2 separate regions of the Homo sapiens genome follow, and region 2 is linked to region 1. The links are contacts of gene promoters, found by promoter capture Hi-C in human tissues and cell types (Jung and others, 2019). All regions are on one chromosome and are shown on one strand. Each heading gives the region's core, a stretch centred on a gene start or on the middle of the fragment in contact. The rest is flanking DNA. Distances are from core to core; before and after follow the strand shown. Region 1 holds the start of EIF2D (eukaryotic translation initiation factor 2D). Region 2 has its middle 9.6 kb from the start of IL20.

The links. Contacts are between HindIII fragments. The study calls those that stand out against the background at their distance.
Region 2: a contact is called between a fragment that was not itself captured here and the fragment with the promoter of EIF2D in region 1, in 1 of the 25 tissues and cell types used here (thymus).

Annotation. Positions count from the first base shown.
Region 1 is chr1:206,608,753-206,616,265 of GRCh38, reverse strand. EIF2D (eukaryotic translation initiation factor 2D) reads left to right here and starts at 3,801. Exons shown (of 15, transcript NM_006893.3): 1 at 3,801-3,979; 2 at 4,892-5,082; 3 at 6,807-6,890. The coding sequence starts at 3,924. RefSeq lists a silencer at 3,539-3,748 and enhancers at 4,039-4,108, 6,519-6,578, 6,619-6,718. The HindIII fragment of the contact is 7,443 bases long and covers 1-5,713 here.
Region 2 is chr1:206,871,426-206,878,938 of GRCh38, reverse strand. No RefSeq gene overlaps it. Among named protein-coding and RNA genes, the nearest start is that of IL20, 9.6 kb to the right of the region's middle. The HindIII fragment of the contact is 5,366 bases long and covers 1,581-6,946 here.

The sequences.
Region 1 (7,513 bases), core at 2,552-5,051:
TCTGGGTTCAAGCAATTCTCGTGCCTCACCCTCCCAAGTAGCTGGGATTACAGGTGCCCACCACCACGTGTGGCTGATTTTTGTATTTTTTAGTAGAGATGGGGTTTCACCACGTTGGCTAGGCTGGTCTCGAACTCCTGACCTCAAGTGATCTGCCCACCTTGGCCTCCCAAAGTGCTGGGATTACAGGCGTGAGCCACTGCGCCTGGCTCCTGCATGTCTTTTAATGGCTTGATAGCTCATTTCTTGTTAGTGGTGAAGAATATTTCATCATCTGCATGTACCACAGTTTATTTATCCATTCACCTACCAAAGAACATCTTGTTTGCTTCCATGTCTTGTCAATTCTGGGTAAAGCTACTATAAATGACTATGTGTAGGTTTTTGTGTGGATATACATTTTCAACTCATTTATATAAATTCCAAGGAGAGTGATTGCTGGATTATATGGTAAAAGCATGCTTAGTTTTGTGGTAGTTTTTGTTTTGTTTTGTTTTACATTTAGATCTTTATCTGGAATTTCTTTTTATGAAAATATGAGGTAAACTTTCCTCCTAAATGGATAGGCATTTGTCCTGACATCATTTATTGCATCCATTTTTTCCTAGTGGTTGGAAAGCATCATCCACAGACTAAATCATGCAAGGTAACTGTGTGAGCCTGGACAAGTTAGTTAACATCTCTGTACTCCAGGTTTCTCACCTGGCAAAGGGGTTAACAATAACTGCTTACAGCATTGGTATGAAGGTAACATGAGGCAATGGGCATGGACACATTTGAAAAAGTAAAAATCCCGTATCCCTGAATCATCTGTATATGGGTGAAGATAACATGACTCTTTCTGAGGCTGTGAACACACTTGCTCATCTGAAAAGCCATCCAGATCCATCAAAGAATTCTCAAACCATTGGTCACATTTGAAATGTAGATGCCAATGATCCATATTTTCAGGGGATTTGCGTGTGGGCTTCAGTAGAAGGGAAGAGAAGGCTAGTGAAGGAGTAACTAGTAGGTAGCCATGGATGAATTATCAGTTTGGGTACCCTGTGGTCCTATAGACTTCAAGAGGACATAAATACCACTTGTTAGACTGTGAGTTCCTTGAGGGCAGAGTGCTTGTGTCGAATTTGTCTTAAAAATCACAGAGCCTGATTAGAAAGCTTCCAGTTAAGTTTCAATGAATTAAACTAAATTTTCTCCATTAGGACTCACTGGGAAGAGAAGAAAAAGGAAGTCTAAGGAAAATGGAATCTCTCATCTGGCCTACCCTTGCTTCCAAATACTTGGTACTCTTGTAAAGAATCCAATTTACAGCCAGTTGCTATCAAGTATAATTAGTGAAAACGATCCTTTTTCTCAGTAAATGGCAGCTTTCTTGGTATAGTTGCCCTGTGCCTTGCTGCAACTTGGCAGCTCAGACCCACCAGTGGGGAACAGTCTGGGAGCCCTGTGGGGTGGCTCTGGAGCTGCTGATGGAAGGCACAGGAATCAGGGCTTGCTGAACTTAAGGTTCAGGCTGCTTTCCCTGCAATAGGGTCAGCCAGCAGGGAGCAGGCAGGTCTGTGATGCAAGCAGAGAAGGTGGGATTGTGCCCACTGGGGAAGGGGGCTCTTGCTCTACCAAAGAGGAGGCTGGATGCCATGGTGCAGAATCCTCTGGGGTCTTGGCTCCTACTTGTCAACCACTAATTAATTTTTAGGTTTACAATTGATGTTTTCTTATCCAAGGACATCTGGTATACAAAAGTTCCCCTAGCTTAAAATGTTTAGTATTCTCTGAATAGCTTTCCTCTGTTCCCTAAGAAAGAGGCTTCCTCAGCAGCTGTGCTGCAAAAGACCCCAAATGTATTGCACATCCGAAGAGTGGCTAAGTGGGAGGTGAAGGGTGGGTACAGGGGTCTGTTGTAGGCACTGTCCTCCTCTGGGCTCCTTTGACATTGGCCTGGTGGCTGGGATACTTCAGAATAAAGGCCTAGTGGGTCACAGGTTTAGGAGGAGTTGGGGCTGGTCCCTAGGCCACTATAGGTGGTGGGCAAACATTGTAGAAGGCCTAATGTTTAGAAAGCCAGTGTGGAATTCTCCTTTGTGCAACTGCGTCACTGAATCAATTGGGATTTTTTATTGGTGAATGGACACTTGGAAGTTTTAATATGCAAAACATAATTTACTTTTATTACTTAAATTGCTTAATGTAATTTTAATATGCAAGACTTAATTTACGAAGAGCCAGGATTCCGGGTGTTTAAATCCTTGTCTCCAGGGAACACAGCTGTCCCTTTGAGGAAAACCTAATTTCTCTTCCCTGCCTGTGTGACTTTGGGACAAATCTGGGACAACAGTGAATTCTCTATTACTGTTATTACCACCCAAGTAAACTAAAAATCCGGGATGAGAAAAATCTTACAGAAAATTCTAGCTGAGGCTTCTAGCTTATAGTACAATGAATAGACCTTAATCATAGAATGCCTTTAAGAAAAACATTTAGGCCCGACTTGGTGGTTCACACCTGTCCTGTAATCCCACCACTTTGGGAGGCCGAGGCGGACAGATCTCTTGACCTCAGGAGTTTGAGACCAGCCTGGGCAACAAGGTGAGATCCTGTCTCTACAAAAAATACAAAAATTAGCCTGGTGTGGTGGTGCCCGCCTGTAGTCCCAGCTACTCGGGAGGCTGAAGCGGATGGATCGCTTGAGCCCGGGAGGTGGAGGCTGCATTGAGCTGAGATTGCGCCACTGCACTCCAGCCTGGGTGACACAGCGAGACCCTGTCTCCAAGTAAACAAAATAAAATAAAATAAAGAAAAATATTCAAAAAGCCCTCGAGGTTTTTTTGTTTGTTTGTTTGATTTTTTTGATACGGAGTCTTACTCTGTTGTCCAAGGTGGGGTGCAGTGGCACAATCTCGGCTCACGGCAACCTCTGCCTCCTGGGCTCAAGCGATCCTACCGCCTTAGCCTCCCCAGGCATGCGCCACCACACCCGGCTGAATTTTTCTTTTTTCTTTTCTTTTTTTTTTTTTTTTGAGACGGACTTTCACTCTTGTTGCCCAGGCTGGAGTGCAATTGTGCAATCTCGGCTCACCACAACCTCTGCCTCCCGGGTTCAAGCAATTCTCCTGCCTCAGCCTCCCGAGTAGCTGGGATTACAGGCATGCTCCACCATGCCCGGCTAATTTTGTATTTTTAGTACAGACAGGGTTTCTCCATGTTGATCAGGCTGGTCTCGAACTCCCGACCTCAGGTGATCCGCCCACCTCGGCCTCCCAATTCTTTTTCTTTCTTTCTTTCTTTCTTTTTTTTTTTTTTTTTTTTTTTTTTTATTTTGTATTTTTTATGGAGATGGGGTTTCGCCATGTTGCCCAGGCTGGTCTCGAACTTCTGGGCTTAAGCGGTCCGCCCGCCTCGGCCTCCCAAAGTCTGGGATAACAGGCTTGGGCCACCGCGCCCGGCCGAAGCCTGAACTGTTTATCAGTTCAATTATTTTTGCGGAATTGAACCGAACCGAATGGAATGGGAGCTTGCAGAGAGCTTCTACTCAAAGCAGTTCCTAAGGTTGATGGGGTGGAAGGAAATAAACAGAACAGCTATTGGCGTGGCCGAGTCGCTACGGACGGGGAACCCGAGCCGCTCGCGCAGGCGCAGAGCCAGGCCCGCGAGGGGATGGGAAGGTGGGGGGGAGGGGCGTTCCCTGGGCCCTGCCCCTCCCTGCCCTGCTTTAGTTCCAGGTACCGCCACTGGGGGCGGCCGCGGCCTCCCCAGCGGCAACGGCCACGAAGCTGCGCGGCCCTGGTTTCCAGCCGGGCCCTTTTCGCGGCCGGGCCCCAGCATGGCTGCCCCCACGGCTGAGGGCCTGGCAGCTGCTGCGCCCTCGCTTTCTTGACATTCCCTGGCTTCTGTGCTCTCTTCCCCAGGCCACCCCAGCAGACATGTTTGCCAAGGCCTTTCGGGTCAAGTCCAACACGGCCATCAAGGGGTCGGACAGGTGAGGGAGGAAAGGGGCCTGCTCTGCCACGGAACAACCAGACACCTCTTGGGCCCCGCTGGCCCATAGCCCTCGCTATTCTTGGCCGACATCCTCGGGTGGAGGCCGAGGGGTATGCCAGGGAAGGGACCCCAGGAGGCAAGGGTGGGTTAGACACATTTTGAGGTGAGGATGGAGGGGGACCTGGCTCTCTTTTGGATAGTCTAGTGAGTTTAAAAGAAAACGTAGTTAAGTCAGAGTTTACTGACTGCAGACTATTTAAGGTGTTGTGGAGAATGCAGAAGTGAAGGAATACAGAATTCTTGCCCTCCAAAGAGCTTAATGCCCCTTGGGAGAGATCGGATGGGATACCAAGAATTAAAAGTATAAGAGAAAAAAATGACTAGTGATTAATTCTGGCAGGAGAGACAGCTGGAAACTGAGGTGGGAGGGAATAAGGCACATGTGGTAAGAAGAACTGTATCTGTTCAGACAGGGTCACAAATGGAGATTGTGTTTGGAATTTTGTAACCAGTGCTTTATAGTTGTCTATAGGTCTCATGGCATAGTTATTTAATCATAAACTGGCATATTTGCGAAGCATGTATGAGAAAGGAGTGGGCCCAAGGGCTAGGCATGAAGTCAGGAAGGCAGGGCTGTTTCCTGTGTCAGGCTAACTTGGATTGTTCACTGGGCCTGTTTTCCCACCCATAAAATGGGAAGGCATACCCCAGGAATGAGTGAAAATAGATGACAATGGATGAAAAAGAGTTTAGGATGTTTCAGAAGAGTGTGTGTGAGACTAGGACATCATAAACCAGGCAATCTTTCTTTGGCCCTTGTGATTTTATAGTGAGCACTTTTGAGTTCGTTCTTGATATTTATTAAAAGTCTGTCCAGGCAGCATTCACAGTGCTGGTGTGCTTTCCACAGGAGAAAGCTTCGAGCTGATGTGACAACTGCTTTCCCCACCCTTGGAACTGATCAAGTCTCTGAGTTAGTACCTGGAAAGGAGGAGCTCAACATTGTGAAGTTGTATGCTCACAAAGGGGATGCAGTGACTGTGTACGTGAGTGGTGGTAACCCCATCCTCTTTGAACTGGAGAAAAATCTGTATCCAACAGGTATGACAACAGGACGAAGATGGCCATTACCATTAGGTAGTTCTTGCCTAACATCTGCTTCTCTCTGTTTCTTCCATTGTCTCCCATAAAATAAGCAAGCACGAAATCTCCCAATACCATCCCCAAGGATCTTTATGGACCTGGTGTTCCTAGAATTGGGTCTTTCAATTCTAGGATGCAAAAGGTTTTCTCTTATGCAAAACCACTATAGGAGGGATTAAAAAAAGGGCTGACATAGTAAGTAAGGGTGGTTGCAAAGGGAAGTTCTGAGATGAAGGAACAGTGGCTGAGAAGTTTACAGTGGGTTGACTAGGAATAGAGCAGAGGTCTTGAAAAGGATGGAATTTCAGGGCATGTCTTCATGAGACAGAGTCTTGCTCTGTTGCCCAGGCTGGAGTGCAGTGGCGCAATCTCAGCTCACTGCAAGCTCCGCCTCCTGGGTTCACACCATTCTCTTGCCTCAGCCTCCCGAGTAGCAGGAACTACAGGCACCCGCCACCACACCTTGCTAATTTTTTGCATTTTTTAGTAGAGACGGGATTTCACCATGTTAGCCAGGATGATCTTGATCTCCTGACCTCATGATCCGCCCGCCTCGGCCTCCCAAAGTGCTGGAATTACAGACGTGAGCCACCGCGCCTGGCCAAAAATATATATATTTTTTAGAGACAAGGTCTTACTCTGTCACCCAGGCTGAAGTGCAGTGGTGTGATCGTAGCTAACTGTAACCTCAACCTCCTGTGCTTAAGGGATCCTCCCACCTCAGCCTCCTGTGTAGCTGGGACTACAGGCATATGCCACCATGTCTGGCTACGTTTAAAATTTTTGGTAGAGACAAGGTCTCACTATGTTGCTCGGGCTGGTCTTGAACTCTTGAGCTCAAGTGATTTTCCTGCCTCAGTCTCCCGAAGTGTTGGGATTACAGGCATGAGCAGGGTGCCCAGCCTAAAAAATGTTTCTTAAAACTATCTGTAGCAGGATTTTCCTAAAATACTGAAAAGATATACTGTGATAGGAATAAAGCTGGATTGATAAGCTACATATCCAGCTGTTTTCATGGTGTACTTTAACCATAGGTCTCACAGGGATTTTTTAGGCTATGAGTGGCTCTCTAGGATTCTTTGCCTTCTCTGTCACAAATCTCAGGGACTCAGTCTCCTTTTCTCTTTTCCATAGCTGCTGACACCTACTTTGTAACTTGGGGCTTTTCATCCTCCAGGGTTGTCTGCAATAGTGCAATGCAATATCCTTAGGCCACTCCTGCCCCTGATCTCACTTCCTTGCTGTACCTGAAGACAACCACAATGCTTTTTGACCTAGGGGTTTTTGCTGCTAATCACTATGGAAACAGAGGGGATAAAAATGATAAACATGGGAAAGTTTCCAAATTTTATACAGCTGGCTTCCTGTTCTTAGGCTACTTGCTTCTGAAGCCGTAAATAAAAGCTTCATTGGTTCTCTGCCCTCACTTTTTTGTCCACTGTGACCATTTTCTGCTGCTGCAATCCGGATGCCTCCAAATCTCAAGTGACACTCAGTTTCTTAGGTTTTTTCCTTCCTCAAAAATGAAACCTCTCTGGGCATCCCCTTACAACCTTCTCTTTAGCTTTGAGTTGAGTTTCTTTCCTGTATTCTAATTAAAGTGACCATAGTGTTAGGTTTTTCCATTTCTCTAGAAGATTGGCTTTTTGGTAGTAGTGTTTTCTGGATCTCTTTTTGTACAGTGTACACGCTGTGGTCCTATCCTGATCTTCTGCCAACCTTTACAACATGGCCTCTGGTGCTCGAGAAACTGGTAGGGGGAGCAGGTAAGAGGATTCTCCTATATTCTGGCTATTGGCTGAAACCTACTTAGCAAAAGCCAACTGATGTAATAAACTTACCCATTTCCTGTGTTTTTGTGGTTGAAAAATGGAATTTTTTCCCCTATGTGTTTTATGTTTCTCACTTGGCTGGTTCCACACAAGATCTCTGGGCCCCTCTGGCCCTGTTGTAAGGCTTAAATAAGTGTTGTGAAAGTATTTTATGAACCACCATGTGCTATACTGTAAATCAATAAGCTGAATTTAGGAAACTAGGACAAGACAGATCATGTTATAGGCTACTCAAACTTTTTTTATTTTTTTTTTTTTGAGATGGAGTCTCACTCTGTTGCTCAGGCTGGAGTGCAGTGGCATGATCTCGGCTCACTACAACCTCTGCCTCCCAGGTTCAAGTGATTCTCCTGCCTCAGCCTCCCGAGTAACTGGGATTACAGGTGTGCATCACCACGCCTGGCTAATTTTTGTATTTTTAGTAGAGACAGGGTTTCATCATGTTGGCCAGGCTGGTCTCGAACTTCTGACCTCAAGTCAACTGCCCGCCTTGGCCTCCCAGAGTGCTGGGATTACAGGCGTGAGCCACCGCACCTGGCTAAGAGTAGCTCTTTTAT
Region 2 (7,513 bases), core at 3,014-5,513, 260 kb before region 1:
TGTTATTTGTCTTTGAGCTCCAGATATTGCATATGAAAAATTATAAAAAATAATGTTAAACTTGGAATAATATTGTCTTCCTCTGAGATGGATTTACATTTGCTTCTGGAAGGAAGCTAGGGGATTAGTAATCCCATATTACCTTGATCTAATCATAGACTGAGATGATTTAAAGCTGGTTTTCTGTCCCTGGTATAACTAGCCTATTTATGAATTGCCATTTCTGCTGTTACCACCAGGTGGGTTCTTCTTGTCTACTGCACAGATAAAGCCAATCCACCAAGACAGTGATATTACAGCAGAGAAAGAGTTTAATAATCACAGGGCTAGGTAGCTGAGCAAATGGATGGGAGTAATTCTTACTCAAATCAGCCTCCTCAAAAACTCAGAGGCTAGGGCTTTTCAAGGATATTTGGAAGGCAGGGATCTAGGGAATGGAGAATGCTGATTGGTTGGGTCAGGGATGAAATCATAGGGGATCAAAGCTGTCTTCTTATGCTGAGTCAGTTTCTGGGTGGGGGTCACAACACCAAATGGGCAAGTTTCTTGGTATGGGTTACTGGTTCAGGTGGACCATCAGCTGGTCCATCAAAATGCAGGGTCTGGAAAATACCTCAAATACCAATCTTAGGTTGACAATAGTGATGCTATCTATAGGAGAAATTGGGGAGGTTACAAATTTTGTGACCTCTGGCTACATGACTCCTGAACTATAATTCTAACCATATTGCTAAGTTTAGTTTTGCACAGGTAGTTTCAGTCCCTGAGCAAGGAGCAAGTTAGTTTCAGGAAGGGGGTATTATCATCTTTGTTTTAAAGTTAAACTATAAACTAAATTCCTCCCGTAGTTAGCTTGGCTTATGTCCAGGAATGGACAAGGGCAACTTGAAGATTACAGGAAAGATGGAATTAGTTATGTCAGATTTATTTCACTGTCATAATTTTTCTGTCAGATTTCTCTCACTGTCATAATTTTTGCAAAGGCAATTTCACTCCTAGGTTGTAGCACCTTGAGATCCCAACCCAAAGCCTGGAAAGGAGGTTGCCAGAGCCTTCTTTAGCAGGCTCTGAGAAAAATACCTTTATTTTCAGCCTCTCAGTCTTCCAAACTTACATCAATTTTTGTGAATTTAGATTATATCCCTAGGGGAAAAGCATCCCCCAACACTGGGCTCACTTCTGTGAGTTTTCATCTCCCAAACCTTGGCCCTATAGTTATGCCTGTTTTGTTACGTCTCTAATACTTTCAGATGTTTTCACATTGTAATAATAGTATCTTCCTCTGAGGTGGATTTACATTTGTGTCTAGAAGAAAGCTAGGGGATTAGTAATTCCATATCATCTTCATCTAATCATAGATCGAGATGATCCAAAGCTGGTTTTCTTTTCTCCTTTTTCTTTTTTTTTTTTTTTTTTGAGATAGAGTCTTGCTTTGTTGCAGTTAATTGTGCAGTGGCACAATCTTTGCTCACTGCAGCCTCCACCTCCCAGTTTAAGAGACTCTCCTGCCTCATCATCCCAAGTAGCTGGGATTTCAGGTGTCCACCAGCACACCTGGCTAAGTTTTGCATGTATGGGGTTTTGCCATGTTGGTCATGCTGGTCTCAAACTCCTGGCCTCAAGTGATCTGCCCACCTTGGGCCCCCAAAGTGCTGGGATTACAGGCGTAAGCCACTGCACACGTCCTCAAAGCTGATTTTCTGTCTCTGAAAAGAATTTTTTAGATTCTTTCTGAATCCTTCTCAGTGAAAAGATTCATTTAAAGACCAGCAGCAGTTCCCTCCTTTATGCAAGACAAAGAGGGAGCTACTTCCACATATTAACCATCTCCATAACAGCTCCAGAAATCACTGATCTCTGCCATCTGTAGGAAAGACAGGCCCACTGTTCAGGGTATGTGAGGTTTGAATGAGAGAACCTAGACAAAGTGCTTGGTAAGTTGTTCCTTTTTTCCTTTTCCAAGTTATTGGTAAAGAATGCTCGGTACTTTTTGTAATGATCATGCTTCTCTCTTTGTTCCATCCTTTAGAAAGTTCAGAGCCAAATTTTAATCCTTCTACCAACTTATGATTCAGAACCTTATCATATATCCTTTGTGAAATGATCTTATCACAATTTCGTTATATTGTCTGTATTCCACGTGTTTCATCTATTTTCTTTAACTCTTGTTGTATTGTATGTGTTCATATAAGCCTCTCTCAATCACTTTCATAGGAGGTGGTACATAAAGAAACAAATTAAATAATTTAAATAAAAGTATTTTGAACTATGATATGCCATAAATGTGATAGAGAATATAGATATTAGTTCAGGATTGAGCCACTTCCCTGGGCTAGCAGGACTTCAAGGTCCCTGTCTTCCCATGCCCCTCACTGACATCAAATTGGACCTTAAAAGTCCAATCCAAGATCCATTTTTCAGAAAGCCTTCCCTGACCTCCCTGCATGAACGTCTTGCCTTAATCACATTGAGCCTCATATTGCTGGACATGACTGCCCTACCACATACTCTCTTTATGCATTTGTAACATCCACAATGCCTAGAAAAGAAATTATCTTGAATTGAATTTTTCACACCTTTACTGGGCAATAATTAGCATGCAATAAACTGCACATATTTAAAGTATACAGTTTGGTAAGTTTCGACATATGTATATACCTATAAAACCTTCACCACCATCAAGATAATGCACATATCTACTGCAATTAGTTTACCTATTCACTTGTTAATGACATTAAGATTGTTTGAAATTGCTGACTATTAAAAATAAAGCTGACATGAACGTTCTTGTATAAGTGTTTGTATGGACATATTCTTCCTTTTCTCTTGGATGAATATGTAGAAGTGGAATAGTTGGGTCATATAGCTTTTTAAGAAACCAATAAACTGTTTTCCAAAGTGGTTGTGCCATTTTACATTCTTATCATCAGCAGTATAAGACAATTTTAGTTCTTCCACAACTTCTCCAACACTTAGTGTGTTCATTCTTTTTAATTGTAGCCATTCTAACAGGTGTGCTATCTTATTGTGGCTTTAATTTGCACTTACGTACTGACAAATGATGTTGGGCATCTTTTCATGTGTTTTTTGGGGGAGGGGGGAGGGTGGAGGCAGGCATTTGTTTATCTTCTTTGGTGTCCAAATCTTTTGCTCATTTAGAAAATTGCATTGTTTTCTTGTAATTGAGTTCTGAGTATTCTTTATGTTTTCTGGACACAAGTTCTTTATCATATACAGGATTTATAAATGTTTTCTCCCTGACTATGGATTATCTTTTCATTTTCTTAGATGTCTTTTGAAGAACAGAAATTTTTAACTTTGATGTAGTACAACTTACCAATTTGTTCTTTTATAGATTGTGCTTTTGCTGCTAAATCTAAAGAATTTTTGACTAATCCAAAGTCACAAGAGTTTTCCTTGAGAAGTTGTGTAGTTGTACACTTAGATCCAGGGTCCATTTTTAGTTAAGTTTTAATTATGAAGTGAGGTATGAATCCAAGGGTTTTTGTTGTTGTTGTTGTTGTTTGATTTTTGTTTTGGTTTTTTGGGTTTTTTGTTTTTATTTTGTGTTTTTTGTTTTGTTTTGCCCCGTTTTTTTTTGCTGTTTGGCTACCCAACTACTATAGCACCATCTCTTTAAAAGACTATTTTATCTTAACCAAATTGCTGTTGTACTTTGTTGAAAATCAATTGTCCATATATACATGGGTCTTTTCAAGACTTTCTATTCTGTTCCATTGATCTATTTTTCGATCTTCTATCTTTACATCAATACTATACTGTCTGAATTGCCATAGCTTTATATAAATTTGAAATCAGATAATATTAATCCTCCAATTTTGTTCTTTTTAAAAGTTATTCTGGCCATTTTTAATCTGTTTCATTTTATATTAATTTTAAAATTGGTTTATAAATTTTACCTAAAACAAAGCAGCTGGAATTTTGATTGTGAATGCCTTAAGTTTATAGATCATGTTGGGGAGAAAATCTTAATAAAGTTGAATCTTTTAACCCATGAATATGGTATATATTTATTATTTAGATCGTCTTTAATTTCTTCCAGCAATGGTTTGCAGTTTCCAGTAGAGATCTTTTAAATCTTCTGTCCCTGATTTATCCCCAAGTATTTTCATTTTTTATGCTATTGTAATTAGTAATCTTTAAAAATTTCAAGTTCCAAGAGTGTGTTGCTGGTGTATGGAAATACAACTTGTTTTTGTATATTGATCTTGTATTCTGCAACTTCACTAAGCTTTCTTATTAGTTCTAGTTGCTTTTGTTGTTATTGCTGAGACTGGGTCTCCCTCTGTCACCAAAGCTGCAGTGCAGTGGTGGGAACACAGCACACTACATCATTGGCTTCCTGGGCCCAAGCAATCCTCCCACCTCAGCCTCCTGTGTAGCTGGGACCACAGATGCTTGCCACCACACCTAGCTAACTTTTTGTAGAGATGGGGCCTTACTCTACTGCCCAGGCTGGACTCGAACTCCTGAGCTCAAGTGATCCTCCTGCCTCAACCTCTCAAAGTCCTGGGATTACAAGCATGAGCCATTGCACCTAGTTTGTTGCTTTTTGTAAATTCCATTGGATGTTTCTACCTAGATAATCATGTCATCTATGAATAAATACATTCTTCATTTGTAATCTGGATAACATTTAGTTCTTCTTGAATTGAACTGAGGTTTACTGGACCTGGATGTACAGGGACTTGAATTTTTTTTGTTTTTTTTCTGAGGCTTACTCTGTCACCCAGTCAGGAGTGTAGTGCAGGATCATGGTTAAGTACAGCCTTAATCTCCCAGGCTCAAGAGATCCTCTCACCTAATTTTTTTTTTTTTTTTTTTTTTTTTTTGTAGAGGCAAGGTCTTACTATGTTGCCCAGACTGGTCTCAAACTCCTGGCTCAAGCAGTCCACCCACTTCTTCCTCCCAAAGTACTGGGATTACAGGCATGCACCAACATGCCCAGCCAGGAACTGAATTTTAATGCCAACTCGGCCATAACTCACTGTATTAACCTTTGGCAAATCACTTTTCCTCTCTGGACCCTCGAAAATGATCTGCATATTCTCTATGTAGATCTGCATATTCTCTATGAACATTCCTTCCCACTTCTAACATTCTAGAAGACTAAGAATGTACACAGAAAGGTGTGAGCACTCTTACAATTCATGGCTTCCTGCCTCCAGGCCTCTGAGTCCTACTCTCTTCCCGTTAAGTGATTGACTCACTGTGCTCCTGACAGTTGAACTGAACTGGCAAATGTCACCTTTTTTGTTCCCAATCTCCCAGTGAAATAAGTGAGTGGCTATATTCAGTCATTCTTTTGCCATTTATTGTACTGCCTCCCGTGAGCAAGGCCCAGTTTGCAGAGCAGGGTGGATTATCTGTTTTCTAACAAAGGCCAAAGGCCTTTAACTCATGAAAAAATCAGCTAACAGCCATTTACAAATAAAAAGCAACTACATTTGATATATTTTTAAAAAAACACTTTCCATTATCTTGCTTTCAGATTCAGTCCTTATTAATAATGTAGCATTATACTGTGCTGAGATGGGGTAGGGTGTGGCAGGCTAAAAAGCTAAAAAGACAACATAGCCCTAACTTCCAGGAACTTAGGAGTCCAGCGAGGGAATGGTCCGTTTGTTCTCCATCCATATGGAGAGGGACAGGCAGACAAAGCTACAGTGGAGTATGTTAGAAAAGACCTGAATCTTTGCAAATAGGGAGTCTGAGCAACCCCAAGCCATGGTGGAAATGAGGGATATAGTAGACTTTTTAAAGTCTTTTTGGTCACCTGGGCTTGGACCTCATTCCTAAGTTTGGGATGCCGCTCCTTTTGAGAAAGAGCCCATCTCCCATCAGAGGAAGCTTGTCCAGCCTCCTTGTCATCCAGAGCACATGGCCTCATCTCATCTCGGCCTGTGCAATCAGATGCATTCATTGAACTCTGAATCCAAAGCTGGTGATACAGAAACCATGCAGGTTCCTTTTCGCTAATGGAAGGCAATTGTGGCAGCAGCTACATCTGGTTCCCTGAGACAGTGGTAACACATCTAGTTTCTAGAACCCAGAATCATCTATTCCAACCCTGTCATTTTACAAATGCAGTGTGGAAATAATTGAAAACCACCCAAATGAGAACAAGCAAGGCTATTTATTCAGAGCTTCCTCTAGCGAGGGAGTCAGCCATCATCACCTGCATTTTGGCAGAGATGTCAAGGCAGGCAGAGGAGTAGGAAAGCTTTAGACTTGGATAAAGAAAAGCTTCAGGTATCCCCTGAATGGAGGCTGTTTGCATGGAGAAGCTGTAGGCATGCTGACTAGAAGTGGGCATCCTATGTGATTGGGGTTTATATTTTTGACTTTCTCTGGCCTATCCTAAGTTGGAAGCAGGGACAAAAATTAGAGAAGCTGTCAATTATTAATCAAGTCCTGCCCATTTGGAGCCAATTGTTAAAGGTGTTATTGCTTCCGGGGCTGATTGCTAGTGATAGTGATCTTACTTCCTTGAGAGTCTGACATATTGAGAGTAGGCTGGCTTCCTGGGCTGGATGGATTGGCTTCCTGGGCTGGTTGTTGCAGATTGTGGGTCAGAGTTCTATTTTTAGATATGGCCTGGCCACTGTCTGTTTGTATATTCAGTCTGTCAGCAGAATATGTACTCCCTCCAGAGAAGGGGAGTGGCCTATTTAAGGTCTAACCGCTAATACTAACCAGACCTGATAGGTCAACCTGAGATTTAACGTATTTATCTTGTCATCTCCAAAGGAACTTATGCTCTGCTTGTTGAAGAAACAAGATTTAGACCCATAGAGAAACAAAATTCAGCACAGATGTCACAGAGGTAAGTTGCACCAGGAAATTAATTGTTAGTGCTATAGCTTGGCAGGAAACCTCATCATTTTCCTCTGATAGTGGCCAGAGCTGCTGCTGGTCAGGTGCTTTGTATGTCCTGGGCATTCTACCCATCCAGCAAAGTCCAGGGGTTAAAAGCATGGCTCTCCAGTCTTCCCACGTGCATTCATATTTTATCTCCACCATTGGTAGCTAGTGAACTTGAACATGATATTTTACCTCTCATCTTCAATTTCCTCATCTGTAAAATGGGAATAATAATGGAAATATCTCATCATGCTCTTGTGCAAATTAGATGGCCAGATATTTGTAACATGCTTAGAACACTTACATTATAAGTACTGGTACAAATTAGCTATTGCAATCTCATTTAGTCCTCATATCCATTCAGTCTGGCAAGTAATATCCCCACCTTGCAGATGAAAAACTGAAGATGGTGATGTCCCTTGTCCAAGACAGTGAGAGTCAGAGTCAGAATTTTTACTTATGTCTCTAGGAAACTAAACCTCATTATTCCTTTCTGCTGTGCTTCTGAAGACAAGATGCCATTGTTGGGAAAAAGGACAAGAAAGTCCAAAAGTATGTAGGGCTGTGGTATCAGACCACCCACATTCATATCTTGGTTCTGACTTCTATTAGCTGTAAAACCTTGCAC